Regions from separate parts of the Homo sapiens genome. Here regions 1, 2, 3 and 5 are each linked to region 4. Evidence: promoter capture Hi-C in 16 types of primary human blood cells and fetal thymus (Javierre and others, 2016). All regions are on one chromosome and are shown on one strand. The core of a region is centred on a gene start or on the middle of the fragment in contact, and the rest is flanking DNA. Distances in the headings are between cores, read along the strand shown. Region 1 overlaps CLASRP (CLK4 associating serine/arginine rich protein). Region 2 holds the start of RELB (RELB proto-oncogene, NF-kB subunit). Region 3 has its middle 8.8 kb from the start of NECTIN2. Region 4 holds the start of CKM (creatine kinase, M-type). Region 5 overlaps CLPTM1 (CLPTM1 regulator of GABA type A receptor forward trafficking).

Region 1 (2,700 bases), core at 198-2,697, 280 kb after region 4:
TGACCAACAGAGACCCAGGCCTTGCCTTGATGATCACATCTTTCTGACACTATCGGAGATGAGTTCTCCCTTTAGCCCCGTGGTTCCTTCCTGGGTGGCAGAGGTAAGCAAGGAGCTCTCAGAGCTTCCTCTTCTCTGCTGAGTGGAAGTAAGAGCGGTCTCTGTCTCACAGGTGACTGTGGGGATTCAAAAAAAATCCTGCATCTCTCACATGGCCTGGGGGTGCCTGCGAAGGATCAATTAAATGGTTAATTACTATTGTTAATATTGTTTTATTCATCTATTCTTTCAAACCATATTTGATGGACCCAACCCTAGGGTACAAACGTGACCCAAATATAATTAGTCCCCAGTCTCACAGAGCTGGGTATGTGCATATACGTATGAATGGAAAAAATTTTTTTTTTTTTTTTTTTTTTTGGGACGGAGTCTCGCTCTGTCGCCCAGGCTGGAGTGCAGTGGCACTATCTCGGCTCACTGCAAGCTCTGTCTCCCGGGTTCATGCCATTCTCCTGCCTCAGCCTCCCGAGTAGCTGGGAGTACAGGTGCCCACCACCACGCCCAGCTAATTTTTTGTATTTGTAGTAGAGACGGGACACACACACACACACACACACACACACACACACACACACAAAGTATTCCTTATCTGAAGTGCTTGGGATCAGAGGTGCTTCAGATTTTTTCAGATTTTGGAATATTTGTCTATTCATAATGAGATATCTTAGGGATGGCACCCAAGTCCAAAGACCAAATTCATTTATACTTTATAAGCACAGCCTGAAGGTAATTGTATACAATATTTTAAATAATTTTGTGCATGAAACAAAGTTTGTGTAAAGTACTTATATGTGAAACTTTCCACTTATAGTGGGGCATCATGTCAGTATGCAGAAAGTTTCAGATTTTGGAGCTAGCCGGGCGTGGTGGCTCACGCCTGTAATCCCAGCACTTTGGGAGGCCGAGGCAAGCAAATCACTTGAGGTCGGGAGTTCAAGACTAGCCTGACCAACATGGTGAAACCCTGTCTCTACCAAAAGTGCAAAAATTAGCCAGGCATAGTGGCACATGCCTGTAATTCCAGCTACTCAGGAGGTTGAGTGAGGCAGGAGAATAGCTTGAACCTGGGGGGTGGACGTTACAGTGAGCTGACATCATGCCACTGCACTCCAGCCTGGGCGACTAAGCAAGACTCTGCCTCAAAAAAAAAAAAAGATTTTGGAGCATTTCGGATTTTGAATTAGGGATGTTCAACCTGTGTATGCGTATGTGTGTGCGTGTGTGTATACATACATACACACACATATATATATATATATAAATTTTTTTTTTGAGATGGAGTCTCACTCTGTTGCCCAGGCTGGAGAGCAATGCAACCTATGCCTCCCGGGTTCAAGCAATTCTCCTGCCTCAGCCTCCCGAGTAGCTGGGATTACCATTTACTCCTGTATTACTGCCCCAGCCTCTTCCCTGGTCTGCTGGCCTCCAGTCCTGGCTCCTCCAGTCTGTCCTCCCTAGAAGAGTCCAGGAGGCCTTTCTAAAGCACAAAACTGACCCTGTCCCTTCATTGCTCAGAGCACCTCTATGGCTCCTAAGTGCCCTTGAGAGAAAGCCCAGGCTCCTCACCACCTCCAGCTAATTTCTGTATTTTTAGTAGAGACGAGGTTTCATCATGTTAGCCAGGCTGGTCTCAAACTCTTGACCTGAGGTGATCCACCTGCCTTGGCCCCCAAAATGCTGGGATTACAGGCGTGAGCCACCACACCAGGCCCATGTATGTGTATCTTAAGTGTGTTAAATTCCACAAAGGGGAAGGAAAGGGAGCTATGATTATGGCATTTTTAGAGGACACCTGACTGAGCTTGGGAAACAAGACTTCTCTGAGGACTGAGATCTGACAGATAAGCAGTAGTTAACCAGGTATGGGAAGAGCTCATACAAAGGTCCTGTGGCTGGGGAGCGCTTGGGTCAGTGGAGGAATAGCAAGGAGGCCAAAATGACTTGTGCAAAGGAACAAGGCAGAGTGTGGGGTGGTGTGAGTCTGGAGGAAGGGCAAAGGCCAGGCCATGCAGGACCCTAAAGGCCACAGTGAGGAGCCTGGGCTTTCTCTCAAGGGCACTTAGGAGGCATAGAGGTGCTCTGAGCAACGAAGGGACAGGGTCAGTTTTGTGCTTTAGAAAGGCCTCTTGGACTCTTCTAGGAAGGACAGACTGGAGGAGCCAGGACTGGAGGCCAGCAGACCAGGGAGGAGGCTGGGGCAGTAATACAGGAATAACTGGGAAAGGTCTATATAAATGTCATCTGACAGGAACACTGAACCTAGAAAACAGGTGCCATTTCAAGCTGGGATCCCAAGGATACACAGGAGTTAAATAGGTGAGGGGGGGTAATATAGGCCAAAGCCCTGTGGTGGCAGAAATAGAAGGCCAGTGGAGCTGTCCGAGTATGAAGCTGAGTGGTCAGACCACAAGGGTCTTTTAGGCCAGGGATAGTTTGGTCTTCCCCGCAAAAACAACTGAAGCATCAGACAGGAGAGGGAAGTGGTCAGGTTTCACTTAATATTCACTCCTTTTTTTTTGAGACAGTCTTTTTTTTTTTTTTTTTGAGACAGAGTCTCGCTGTCGCCCAGGCTGGAGTGCAATGGTGCTATCTCAGCTCACTGCAGGCTCCGCTCTGCCCCCCTCCCCGGTTCACACCATT
Region 2 (2,700 bases), core at 151-2,650, 320 kb after region 4:
CTTCTAGCCCTTCCCCTCTGGATCAGGCCCCTCGCCCTGACTGCCCCCCTGCGTCTGGCCAGGCTTACCAGCTAAATCATGGACAGGTCCTGGCCTTTAGTTTCTGTGGTTCGCCCCACCCTTCATCACACTCAGGGCCCGCTCCTTTTCTCCCTTAAAGTTGGGCCTGGAGGGGACCCCATCTCAATCTCAGTTTAAAAAGTCCCCATCCCGCTGGGCACAAGGGCTCACACCTGTAATCCCAGCACTTTGAGAGGCCGAGGCGTGCGGATCACCTGAGGTCAGAAGTTCGAGGCCAGTCTGACCAGCATGGTGAAACCCCGTCTCTAGTAAAACTACAAAAATTAGCCGGGTGTGGTGGCGGGCACCTGTAATTCCAGCTACTCGGGGGGCTGAGGCAGGAGAACTGCTTGAGCCCGGGAGGCAGAGGTTGCAGTGAGCCTAGATCGTGCCACTGCACTCCAGCCTGGGCGACAGAGCGAGACTCCATCTCAAAAGAAAAAAACAAAAAACAAACAAAAAAAAACATCCTCCTGTCAGGGTCAGACCACTTTTAATTTTTTCAATGTCAAGGCTCCGCTTCTCCGTCTGGAGGCAAGCCCCACCCCCTCCTCATTCTCTGTGTCGGGCCCCGCCCTGCTTTTTTGGGTAACAGGCCCTTCCCCTCCACTCGGCCAGAGTCAGGCCCCGCCCCTTCCCCTTCTTTCGGCCAACTCAGGCCCCGCCCCCTTCCTGCCCTCACGGCCAGGCCCCGCCCCCTCACCCCTCAGCGTAGGGCCCTGCTTCCTTTTTTGAGTCAGGCCCGGCCCTCTTCTCATAGTCCGGGTCGGATCCCGCCCCTCTTCTCCCTCTCTGGGCCCGGCCCCGCCCCGATACCGCCCAAGAGCAGCTTTCGCTCCGCCTTCTCTGAGTCAGGCCACGCCCCCTTCTTTGCCTCAGGGTCAGGCCCCGCCCCCTCTCACTCTACAGCGGGACGCCTCGCTCGAACCTCGGGCCGTACCCCCTCATCACCCTCTGCCTTCTTCCTACGCCCTAATACAGTGTCTCAGGAACCCTCACTCTGCCCCCGCGAAACCCTTAGACTCCCATAGGAACCCCCAGACTACTCCGGGACCGCCAGAATCCCCGCATCTCCAGCCCCGCCCCAGACCCCTCTCCTGAACCCCAGCCCCGCTTACCTAAGGCCCCCAGCTCCGGCGCAGCCGGCGGTCTGGCGACGCGGCGACTCGGCATGGCCCGGCCAGTGGGGACGGACGGCCCAGAGGCTGGCCCAGACCGAAGCATGCACGCGGGCCGGCCGGGCGGCCGGGAGGCACGGTCTGGTGGACGATCGCGGGTCGGACGAGCGGCGCAAGGGCTGGGGCCGCAGGCCGGGCAGGACGCGCGGCGCCCGGGGCTGCGCGGGGCGCGGGGCCGGGCCGGGCGGGCGGCGGGCGGGGGCGGGGCGGCGGAATTCCCCGGCGCCGCCGGCCTGCGCGCCCATTGGTCTGCACCCCGCCGTGACGTCACGCCTGGGGAACGGGAAAACCCCCACGCGTCACGTGATCGCGGGGGCGGGGCCGGCCGGGAAAGGGAGGCTGGGCGCTCAGGAGGGGTTGGGCAGGCGTCGCTGCCCATTGCTCTGGACGAGACAACTGAGGCCTGCTTAGAGCCATCACGCCTTACCCATTGAGCAAGCCGGCAAACTGAGCCGCTCCCCGCTTTGGTCTCCCAGTGGGACTTGAACCTGCCGTTTCTCAGGCTGGAAGGGGAGCTTCAGGATCGAGAGGTTGGCAGGGCTCTACACCTGCCATCCATAATAATATTTCGGAAACCTCCAAGGTCTCGCTACACCTCAGTTTCCTCAACCGTAAATTGAGGATGAAGATATTTAAGGAACGTTTAAAGCTAGCGTGTCAGCTTCAGAATTTATGTTTTGTGCGTTGTTGTAACCCCAACGCCTAGACCAGCGCCTGGAACACCGTAGGTGCCCAATAAATGTTTATTGGAGGCCGGGCGCGGTGGTTCATGCCTGTAATCTCAGCACTTTGGGAGGCCGAGGCAGGCACATCACGAGGTCAGGATTTCGAGACCAGCCTGACCGACATGGTGAAATCCCATCTCTACTAAAAATACAAAAATTAGCTGGGCGTGTTGGTGTGCGCCTGTAATGCCAGCTACTCCGGAGGCTGAGGCAGGAGAATAGCTTGAACCTGGGAGGCGGAGGTTGCAGTGAGCTGAGATCGTGCCACTGCACTCCAGCCTGGGCAACAGAGCGAGACTCCCATCTCAAAAAAAAAAAAGTTTATTGGATGAATGCATGGATGTTTTATTTATTGGTTTGTTCCTCCCTGCAGCCCCTGAAAGTTACCCATAAATAGCCCAGACCACTTTGAGCTCAAAAGCTCAGTTATTCAGTCTGCGAATGGCAGCAGTGTAGCCTCCGTATACATCCTGAGCTGTGTGCCTAAACCCTGAGCTCATCCCTATCACCAGCGCCAGAAGCATATGATAGGATTATTGCAGAAGGGACTCAGGCTGAAAGAGGGGCAGCCATTTGGCTAGATCACATTCCTAAGCCTCTCATATTCCTGAGAACGACTAGGTGATCTATTAGGTTCTAAGTTGGATGCCAGGCGCTCTCAGACCACAGATGCAGGGTTTGTTGTCTTTCCTTTGCTTGTATAAAATTTGGGTGTTCTGGCTAGGCACGGTGGCTCA
Region 3 (2,700 bases), core at 68-2,567, 490 kb after region 4:
GTCTCGCTCTTGTCCCCCCAGGCTAGCGTACAATGGTGTGATCTCGGCTCACTGCAACCTCCGCCTCCCGGGTTCAAGCGATTCTCCTGCCTGAGCCTCCCGAGTAGCTGGGATTACAGGTGCCTGCCACCACGCCCAGCTAATTTTTGTATTTTTAGTAGAGACGGGGTTTCTACTAAATCATGTTTGCCAGGCTGGTCTCGAACCCCTCACCTCAGGTGATCTGCCTGCCTCGGCCTCCCAAAGTTCTGGGATTACAGGCGTGAGCCACCGCACCTGGCCTTTATTTTTTTTTTTTTGAGACAGAGTGTCGCCCTGTCACCCAGGCTGGAGTGCAGTGGTGTGATCTCGGCTCGCTGCCACCTCCGCCTCCTGGGTTCAAGTGATCCTTGTGTCTCAGCCTCCTGAGTAGCTGGGATTACAGGCGCGTGCCACCATGCCCAGCTAATTTTTGTCTTTTTTTTTTTGTAGAGACAAGGTTTCACCATGTTGGCCAGGCTGGTCTCGAACTCATGACTTCAGGTGATCTGCCTGCCTCGGCCTCCCAAAGTGCTGGGATTACAGGTGTGAGCCACCGCACCTGGCCTAAGGCAACCTTTTTGCTTTTCTCTGTGTCTCTTTATTTTTCCTTAGATAATCACAATAATTAACATGTACTGCACATGGACTCTGTGCCAGGCTTTGTACTAAATACTTCCCTGGTTATCTCATCAAATTCTCCCCTCCATCCTCTGATCCTCTGTGTGCATTTGCTGTATTTTTTTAAAGGGAATTTTCAATTCTGTTATATAGGGAACAAGAGCCCTATAAATAAGGACACAGACAGGTGAAATGAAGGATGGATATTAAGAAGCAACTCAAGCCGGGCGTGGTGGCTCACACCTGTAATCCCAGCACTTTGGGAGGCTGAGGCAGGCGGATCATGAGGTCAGGAGATCGAGACCATCCTGGCGAACACGGTGAAATCTTGTCTCTACTAAAAATACAAAAAATTAGCCAGGCGTGGTGGCACCCGCCGGTAATCCCAGCTACTCGGAAGGCTGAGGCAGGAGAATCAGTTGAACCCGGGAGGCGGAGGTTGCAGTGAGCTGAGATCGCGCCACTGCACTCCAGCCTGGGCAACTGAGCAAGACTCCGTCTCAAAAAAAAAAAAAAAGCAACTCATGAGACCTGTTAGACATACTAAGAATGTGAGCTGAACACAGATGGGAGGGATGCAGGGATCCAGTAAGCTCCAAGCATTCATGCGTCCTGTGGGCGACACCCACTCTGCTCCATGAGTCCCAAGCCCAAGACACAGGTAAAAGCTGTGGCTGCCAAGCAGGTGATCAGCCAGCTACAGTCATCTAGCTTCTCATGTTTATTTTTGTTGTTGTTTTGAGACGGAGTCTCGCCCTGTTGCCCAGGCTGGAGTGCAGTGGCGTGATCTTGGCTCACTGCAAACTCCGCCTCCCGGGTTCAAGTGATTCTCATGCCTCAGCATCCCCAGTAGCTAGCATTACAGGTGTGCCCCCCTACCCCTGGCTAATTTTTGTATTTTTAGTAGAGATGGGGTTTCACCATGTTGGCCAGGCTGGTTGAGAACTCCTGACCTCAAGTGATCTGCTTGCCTCGACCTCCCAAAGTGCTGGGACTACTGTTATTTTATTTTTTGAGACAGGATCTCGCTCTGTTGCCCTGGCTGGAATGCAGTGGCTGGATCACGGCTCACTGCAGCCTCAGCCTCCCAGGCTCAAGGGATCCCCCTACCTCAGCCTCCCGAGTAGCTGGGACTACAGGCGTGTACCGCCACATCAGGCTAATTTTTGCATTTTTTGTAGAGACAGAGTCTCTGTTTGTTGCCAGGGCTGGTCTCGAACTCCTGGGCTCAAGTGATCCTCCTGCCTTGGCCTTCCAAAGTGCTGGGATTACAGGCCTGAGCCACAGCGCCCAGCCTGTTTTATTTTTTGAGTTTTGCACAACATCTTTTGTTTTAATCAAATCTCTTTGTTTTACTCCCATAGATTTGGCTTCAAAATTGAAGATCTAGATTCCATGTCCAGAGAAAGAGAGAACCTGATGAGTCTTGAGAACAAGACCAGGGACAAGATCTCTGAGCTGGAGTTCAAGGTCAACAGCCCACTTTGGTTAACAAGAGGCACCTCCTGGCTGTCCAGTGCTTCCTCGTGGAGGAGTCAACTGCTTCTCTTGGGAGGTGGAGGGTGTTCCCATCCAAGTGCCTCCTCAGGCCCTAGAGAGTCAGGGATTGGTTGCAGTTCCTGAAGTCTCTTCCTAGGTCTGTGGACCTTCTAAGGAATTCCACTGACCACTTTCCCCACTGGAGTCCAGCAACACCATTAGGATGTGAATTATTATTATTATTATTATGTCTTGGAGACAGGATCTTGCTCTGTCTCCCAGCCTGGAGTACAGTAATGCCATCATAGCTCGCTGCAGCTTTGACTTTCTGGACTTGAGCGATCCTCCCACTCTGAGTAGTGGGGACTGCAGGTGTGTGCCACCATGTTTGGCTAATTTAAAAATTTTTTTGTAGAGATGGGATCTTGCTGTGTTGCCCAGGCTGGTCTTGAATTCCTGACCTCAAGTGATTTTCCCGCCTTGAGCTCCCAAAGTGCTGGGATTACAGGCGTGAGCCACTGTGCCTGGTGGGTTGTGAAGTTTGTTCATTGATGTCTCCCCAGTGCCTGGCACACAGTAAAC
Region 4 (2,700 bases), core at 177-2,676:
TTCTGGGCCTCAGTTTCCGTAACCGTGAAGGAGACCCTCGGCAATCTGAGCTTGCTGGGAAAGGGCTGGGCCCCATGTAAATATTTCTAAAGCACCCCTCTCCCCTCCCCCCTCAGATCAGGAGTCTGAGGGAGAGGCACAGAGGCTCCCTTTCTCTAAGCCAGTCCTCACCTGCCTAAGAAGATGTGAAGGAGACCCAGGAGACCCTGGGATAGGGAGGAACTCAGAGGGAAGGGACATTCTTTTCTTCGTCGCAATCCTGGGAGCTCCCTGGAGGAGGAGACCCGATCAGCCTGCAATCCTGGCGCGTCCCAGGAGGAGAAAGCGGCTTCCTCTATACTGTACTCTCCTCCACAGAACCCCCCTCTCAGCCCTGGAAGTCCTTGCTCACAGCCGAGGCGCCGAGAGCGCTTGCTCTGCCCAGATCTGCGCGAGTCTGGCGCCCGCGCTCTGAACGGCGTCGCTGCCCAGCCCCCTTCCCCGGGAGGTGGGAGCGGCCACCCAGGGCCCCGTGGCTGCCCTTGTAAGGAGGCGAGGCCCGAGGACACCCGAGACGCCCGGTTATAATTAACCAGGACACGTGGCGAACCCCCCTCCAACACCTGCCCCCGAACCCCCCCATACCCAGCGCCTCGGGTCTCGGCCTTTGCGGCAGAGGAGACAGCAAAGCGCCCTCTAAAAATAACTCCTTTCCCGGCGACCGAGACCCTCCCTGTCCCCCGCACAGCGGAAATCTCCCAGTGGCACCGAGGGGGCGAGGGTTAAGTGGGGGGGAGGGTGACCACCGCCTCCCACCCTTGCCCTGAGTTTGAATCTCTCCAACTCAGCCAGCCTCAGTTTCCCCTCCACTCAGTCCCTAGGAGGAAGGGGCGCCCAAGCGCGGGTTTCTGGGGTTAGACTGCCCTCCATTGCAATTGGTCCTTCTCCCGGCCTCTGCTTCCTCCAGCTCACAGGGTATCTGCTCCTCCTGGAGCCACACCTTGGTTCCCCGAGGTGCCGCTGGGACTCGGGTAGGGGTGAGGGCCCAGGGGGCACAGGGGGAGCCGAGGGCCACAGGAAGGGCTGGTGGCTGAAGGAGACTCAGGGGCCAGGGGACGGTGGCTTCTACGTGCTTGGGACGTTCCCAGCCACCGTCCCATGTTCCCGGCGGGGGGCCAGCTGTCCCCACCGCCAGCCCAACTCAGCACTTGGTCAGGGTATCAGCTTGGTGGGGGGGCGTGAGCCCAGCCCCTGGGGCGGCTCAGCCCATACAAGGCCATGGGGCTGGGCGCAAAGCATGCCTGGGTTCAGGGTGGGTATGGTGCGGGAGCAGGGAGGTGAGAGGCTCAGCTGCCCTCCAGAACTCCTCCCTGGGGACAACCCCTCCCAGCCAATAGCACAGCCTAGGTCCCCCTATATAAGGCCACGGCTGCTGGCCCTTCCTTTGGGTCAGTGTCACCTCCAGGATACAGACAGCCCCCCTTCAGCCCAGCCCAGCCAGGTACTGCACGGGGCGGGAATCTGGGTGGGGGCCAGAGTAGGGGATTTCTGTGGGTGCTAGAGGCTTGGCTTGGGAAAGGGTCTGTGTGTCACCCCTTGCTCCACCAACATCCTCCTATACAAAGGCAGGTCGGTGCGTGGGAAGGTTGACCCTTGTGTGTCTGGGAGGCCCCTCCATCTGTGAGGCTGCCTGAACCCCCCACTGGGACCTGTGATTTCTGCGGCACAAGTCTTGGGTTATGGGGAGGGATCCGAGATGAAAGGGGTCCTGACAGCTGCCAACTGTCACCCCCTGCAAGGGGCTGTTGAGCCAGGCCTGTGTTCATTACAGTTTGTCGCCAACACTGGCGCCACAAGCCGTGGGAGGTGTGTCTGTCGCCTAGCAGAGTCTGCAAGAGCAGGTGTCGCAGGCTTTCTTTGCGTTTGCTACTGTGTGGGTCCCTGTGACCTTGTTTCTGACTTAGTAGCGGACACATGAGTGTCCTGGGCATGTCCTTGAGTTTGGAAGTGTGACTGTGTGACTTAGTTTACAGTGTGATCTGGGGAGTCTGCGGTGGTGGGGGTGTGTGGCTCTGGGGCTTTCTGCTTATGTCTCTTGTGGGGGGGGTCACCACCCTGCCTCAGTGCCCTCTCCTGGGGTGTCCCTGGCAGGGATTAGGGGGGCATCCTCTGAAGGGAGGGGGTCTGGGCTGCCATCCCAGGATGTCCTTGAGCCCCGAGGCCTGGACCCGTGTCCTCCCAGCCACCCTGGCCCACCTGTCTTGGGCCTGCTGACTTGGTGCAAGCCGAGCCCCGGAATGTGGGGGTGGGGCGGGGCAGCAGCTGGGGGTGGGATGGCAGGCAGTTGCCAGATTCTAAAAATAACCACCCTGGACAGCAGCACCCAAGGTCTTTGGCGGGTCCCTGTTCCTCTTCCCTGGCTTCAGCTCACCGTGGTCCCAATCTCCCTCCCACAATCCCACCTGCTTCCCATCCCCGTCTCCCACCGCTGCTGGAGGCCCCTTCTCCTTTCTGGGTCCCTTCTCCTTTCTGGGTCCAGTGAATAAAATAATAATAACAGTAGGACCTGGCGCAGTGGCTCACACGCATAATCCCAGCATCTTGGGAGGCCGATGCTGGAGGATCACTTGAGGCCAGGAGTCCCAGACCAGCCTGGGCAACATAGTGAGACCCCATCTCTGCAAAAAAGTAGTAATAACAAATAACAATAATAGCAGCCAC
Region 5 (2,700 bases), core at 191-2,690, 360 kb after region 4:
GGAGTCTCACTCTGTCCCCAGGCTGGAATGCAGTGGCACGATCTCAGCTCACCGCAACCTCTGCCTCCTGGGTTCAAACGATTCTCCTGCCCTCAGCCTCCTGAGTAGCTGGGACTACAGGCACGTGCCACCACACCCAGCTAATTTTTGTATTTTTTTTGTATTTTTTATTTTTTTTGAGACGGAGTCTTTCTCTGTTGCCCAGGCTGGAGTGCAGTAGCGCGATCTCAGCTCTCTGCAAGCTCCGCCTCCCGGGTTCACGCCATTCTCCTGTCTCAGCCTCCGGAATTTTTTTATTTTTAGTAGAGATGGGGTATCACTATGTTGGCCAGGATGGTCTCGATCTCTTGACCTCGTGATCCACCCGCCTCGGCCTCCCAAAGTGCTGGGATTGTAGGTGTAAGCCACCGTGCCCAGCCAGATTTTTTTATTTTTAGTAGAGACAGGGTCTTACTATGTTGCCCAGGCTGGTCTCAAACTCCTGGGCTCAAGCAGTCCTTCCAACCTGGCCTCCCAAAATGCTGGGATTATGAGGGTGAGTCATTGTGCCTGGCCCAGATAGGGTCTGTAAAAAAGTAAGGTTCAGTGAGGTCATTATGGTGGGTACTAAGCCAGTATGACTAGTGTCCCCATAAGAGGAGCTTAGGACACAGACACACACAGAGGAAAGACCACATGAAGACACAGGGAGAAGACGGCCTTCTGCAAGCCCAGGAGAGAAGCCACAGAAGAAACTGCCCCTGCCCACAGCTGGATCCTGGACTTCCAGCCTTCAGAACTGTAAGACAATGAATTTCCTATTTCAGTTGTTTAAGCTACTCCGTCTATATTACTTGATACAAGGGCCCTAGCAAACTACTTCAGTATTTTTTGTGTTTTTATTTTTTCACAAATCAGGTAGCCCCCCAAAAACCAGAACAGGTTCAGGGAGACTCCCTACTTCAGTATGTTTTACCAGAGTAAAAAAAAGGTTTAGAAAACATTCCATCATACAAAAAAAAAAAGAAAAAAAGCAACTCTACCATACAGTAATGATCACCATCCTCAGCTGATCAGCTGACTTTTCCTTTCTTCCTTATTTTTATTTGAATGTTTTCGGTGAACAAACCCAAGTCCCGTCTGCTCACCTAAACAGCACACCTTTGATGACCTGCCAGGCATTGGGTGCCGGCTGGGCCGGTGGGTTCTGAGGCTGGGTCTCCGCTGGCGGGTCCCTCCCGATGCTGCCATTGCTGGTCACCTGTGGGGGACAGAGGCCAGGGTAAGGAGGGAGAATGGACACGGGGGCTGTCTTAGACACCATCATGCATGAAGGCCAGGCACAGGCTGGGCAAAGAGTGGGTGCTTATCAATAACTGGAGAATGAATCAGTGAAAACACCTGGGAAGGTGCGGTCCTCTTCTTTTAGGAGGAAAACACTCGCAGAGCACCTCTGTGACCTAGGGACAGTGGTGACCTAGAGAGTCTTTTGCTGTCCTCCTGGGGTTTAACAGCCCGGTGGGGGAGAAAGATTCATCTCTAGACAGTGACTGTCCAGAACGGGGCAGGAATGCAGGAGCCCTGAGAGGCACCTGGTCCAGTCTAGGGTTCGGGGCAACTTCCTGGAGAAGGGGGCATTGAAGCTGAGACCTAAAACATAGCAAGTTGGTGGCACAAAGGAGGAAGTGAGAGAAGCAGCAGGTGCAGAAACAGAAGATTAGAGGCACAGTCTGATTCTGATGACTGTCCACTGTTCCCTGGGGCTGGAGCCAGGATGCAAGGAGGTGGCTATTGGGGACAACAACAGAAGGAGTCTTATGGCAGGTGCCAGATTCTTCAAGGCTGGGGCTTAGCTGAAAGAGCCTTCCCTGGGCAAACCATTCCTGAGGCCCCCTCTGTGGCCAACCCTGCCCTCCAAGGGCCCCTGGTCCAGCAGGTGGGACAGACACAGAAAAACACAACCAGACTATCAGCTGCTACCATAAGCCACGGCCACAAGACATGTCTGTGACAGCACACAGCACACTAATCCTGAGGCCAAAACTATGACCAGCTCCATCCGGCTGCTGAGCAAAGGGAGGCTCAGAGAGGTGAAGCCACTTGTCTGGTCACTCAGGAAGGACCGCAGAAGCAGAATGACAGAAGGGAAGGGGGGCAGGCAAGGGAGCCAGGCACGGCTTCCCAGAGGAGGACTCTTCACTCAGACACAGAAGGTCACAATCAGAGACTCTCTGAATGCCAGGTTTGGAAGGGGATGTTCTGCTCACCCTTCACGCACCCTGCTAGCTCCCCAGTCCTGTTCTCATTCACCCCTCCTCCCAGCTGTCCCCTCAGCCATCAGCCTTCAAGAGGCAGGACCAGGGCTATCACAGTCACAGTTAGCTCAAGAGCACCAGTGGCACAGAGCAAGGCTGTGATAAACACCTGTGTGGCCACCGCTGCCTGAAGGACTCACCCCGGACGCTCAGGTCACCCAAACCCACTTCCCTCTGAGGCTCCAGTGTCTGGCCCTCTCCTCCACAGCCCCTAGTCCACTCCTCTGCAATGTTTTCTCCATTCACCTTACCCACCAGATAGCAAATGTCCCAGGAGCATGGTTAGAGGGGCTACATGTGTTAAATGTGTCACTTGTCACCTCCTGTCCCCTTCACCAGCAAGAGCTCTTTCCTGTAATCTCCCAAAGCACAGGACACCATTGGAGGGGCTCCAGGGTCAAACAGA

Evidence for each region. Contacts are between HindIII fragments. The CHiCAGO score rates a contact against its expected background, and 5 or more counts as called.
Region 1: a contact is called between a fragment that was not itself captured here and the fragment with the promoter of CKM in region 4, in 5 of 17 cell types (endothelial precursors, M2 macrophages, erythroblasts and 2 more). The highest score is 5.6, in endothelial precursors.
Region 2: the fragment with the promoter of RELB here is called in contact with the fragment with the promoter of CKM in region 4 in 2 of 17 cell types (M2 macrophages and erythroblasts); the score reaches 8.4 in M2 macrophages.
Region 3: a contact is called between a fragment that was not itself captured here and the fragment with the promoter of CKM in region 4, in 4 of 17 cell types (total B cells, M2 macrophages, fetal thymus and 1 more). The highest score is 5.8, in total B cells.
Region 5: a contact is called between a fragment that was not itself captured here and the fragment with the promoter of CKM in region 4, in 1 of 17 cell types (M0 macrophages). The highest score is 5.2, in M0 macrophages.

What each region holds. Positions count from the first base shown.
Region 1 is chr19:45,041,132-45,043,831 of GRCh38, reverse strand. All of the region lies in intron 2 of CLASRP (CLK4 associating serine/arginine rich protein), which reads right to left. Among named protein-coding and RNA genes, the nearest start is that of CLASRP, 3.4 kb to the right of the region's middle. The HindIII fragment of the contact is 4,283 bases long and covers 1-2,700 here.
Region 2 is chr19:45,000,164-45,002,863 of GRCh38, reverse strand. It overlaps RELB (RELB proto-oncogene, NF-kB subunit), which reads right to left and starts at 1,400. Exons shown (of 12, transcript NM_006509.4): 1 at 1,179-1,400. The coding sequence starts at 1,284. RefSeq lists silencers at 567-846, 1,167-1,576. The HindIII fragment of the contact is 31,053 bases long and covers 1-2,700 here.
Region 3 is chr19:44,836,112-44,838,811 of GRCh38, reverse strand. No RefSeq gene overlaps it. Among named protein-coding and RNA genes, the nearest start is that of NECTIN2, 8.8 kb to the left of the region's middle. The HindIII fragment of the contact is 4,470 bases long and covers 1-2,700 here.
Region 4 is chr19:45,321,601-45,324,300 of GRCh38, reverse strand. It overlaps CKM (creatine kinase, M-type), which reads left to right and starts at 1,426. Exons shown (of 8, transcript NM_001824.5): 1 at 1,426-1,480. RefSeq lists an enhancer at 460-702. The HindIII fragment of the contact is 13,711 bases long and covers 1-2,700 here.
Region 5 is chr19:44,960,503-44,963,202 of GRCh38, reverse strand. CLPTM1 (CLPTM1 regulator of GABA type A receptor forward trafficking) reads right to left here. Exons shown (of 14, transcript NM_001294.4): 2 at 1,128-1,240. Among named protein-coding and RNA genes, the nearest start is that of CLPTM1, 6.5 kb to the right of the region's middle. RefSeq lists a silencer at 1,317-1,470 and an enhancer at 1,637-1,956. The HindIII fragment of the contact is 5,952 bases long and covers 1-2,700 here.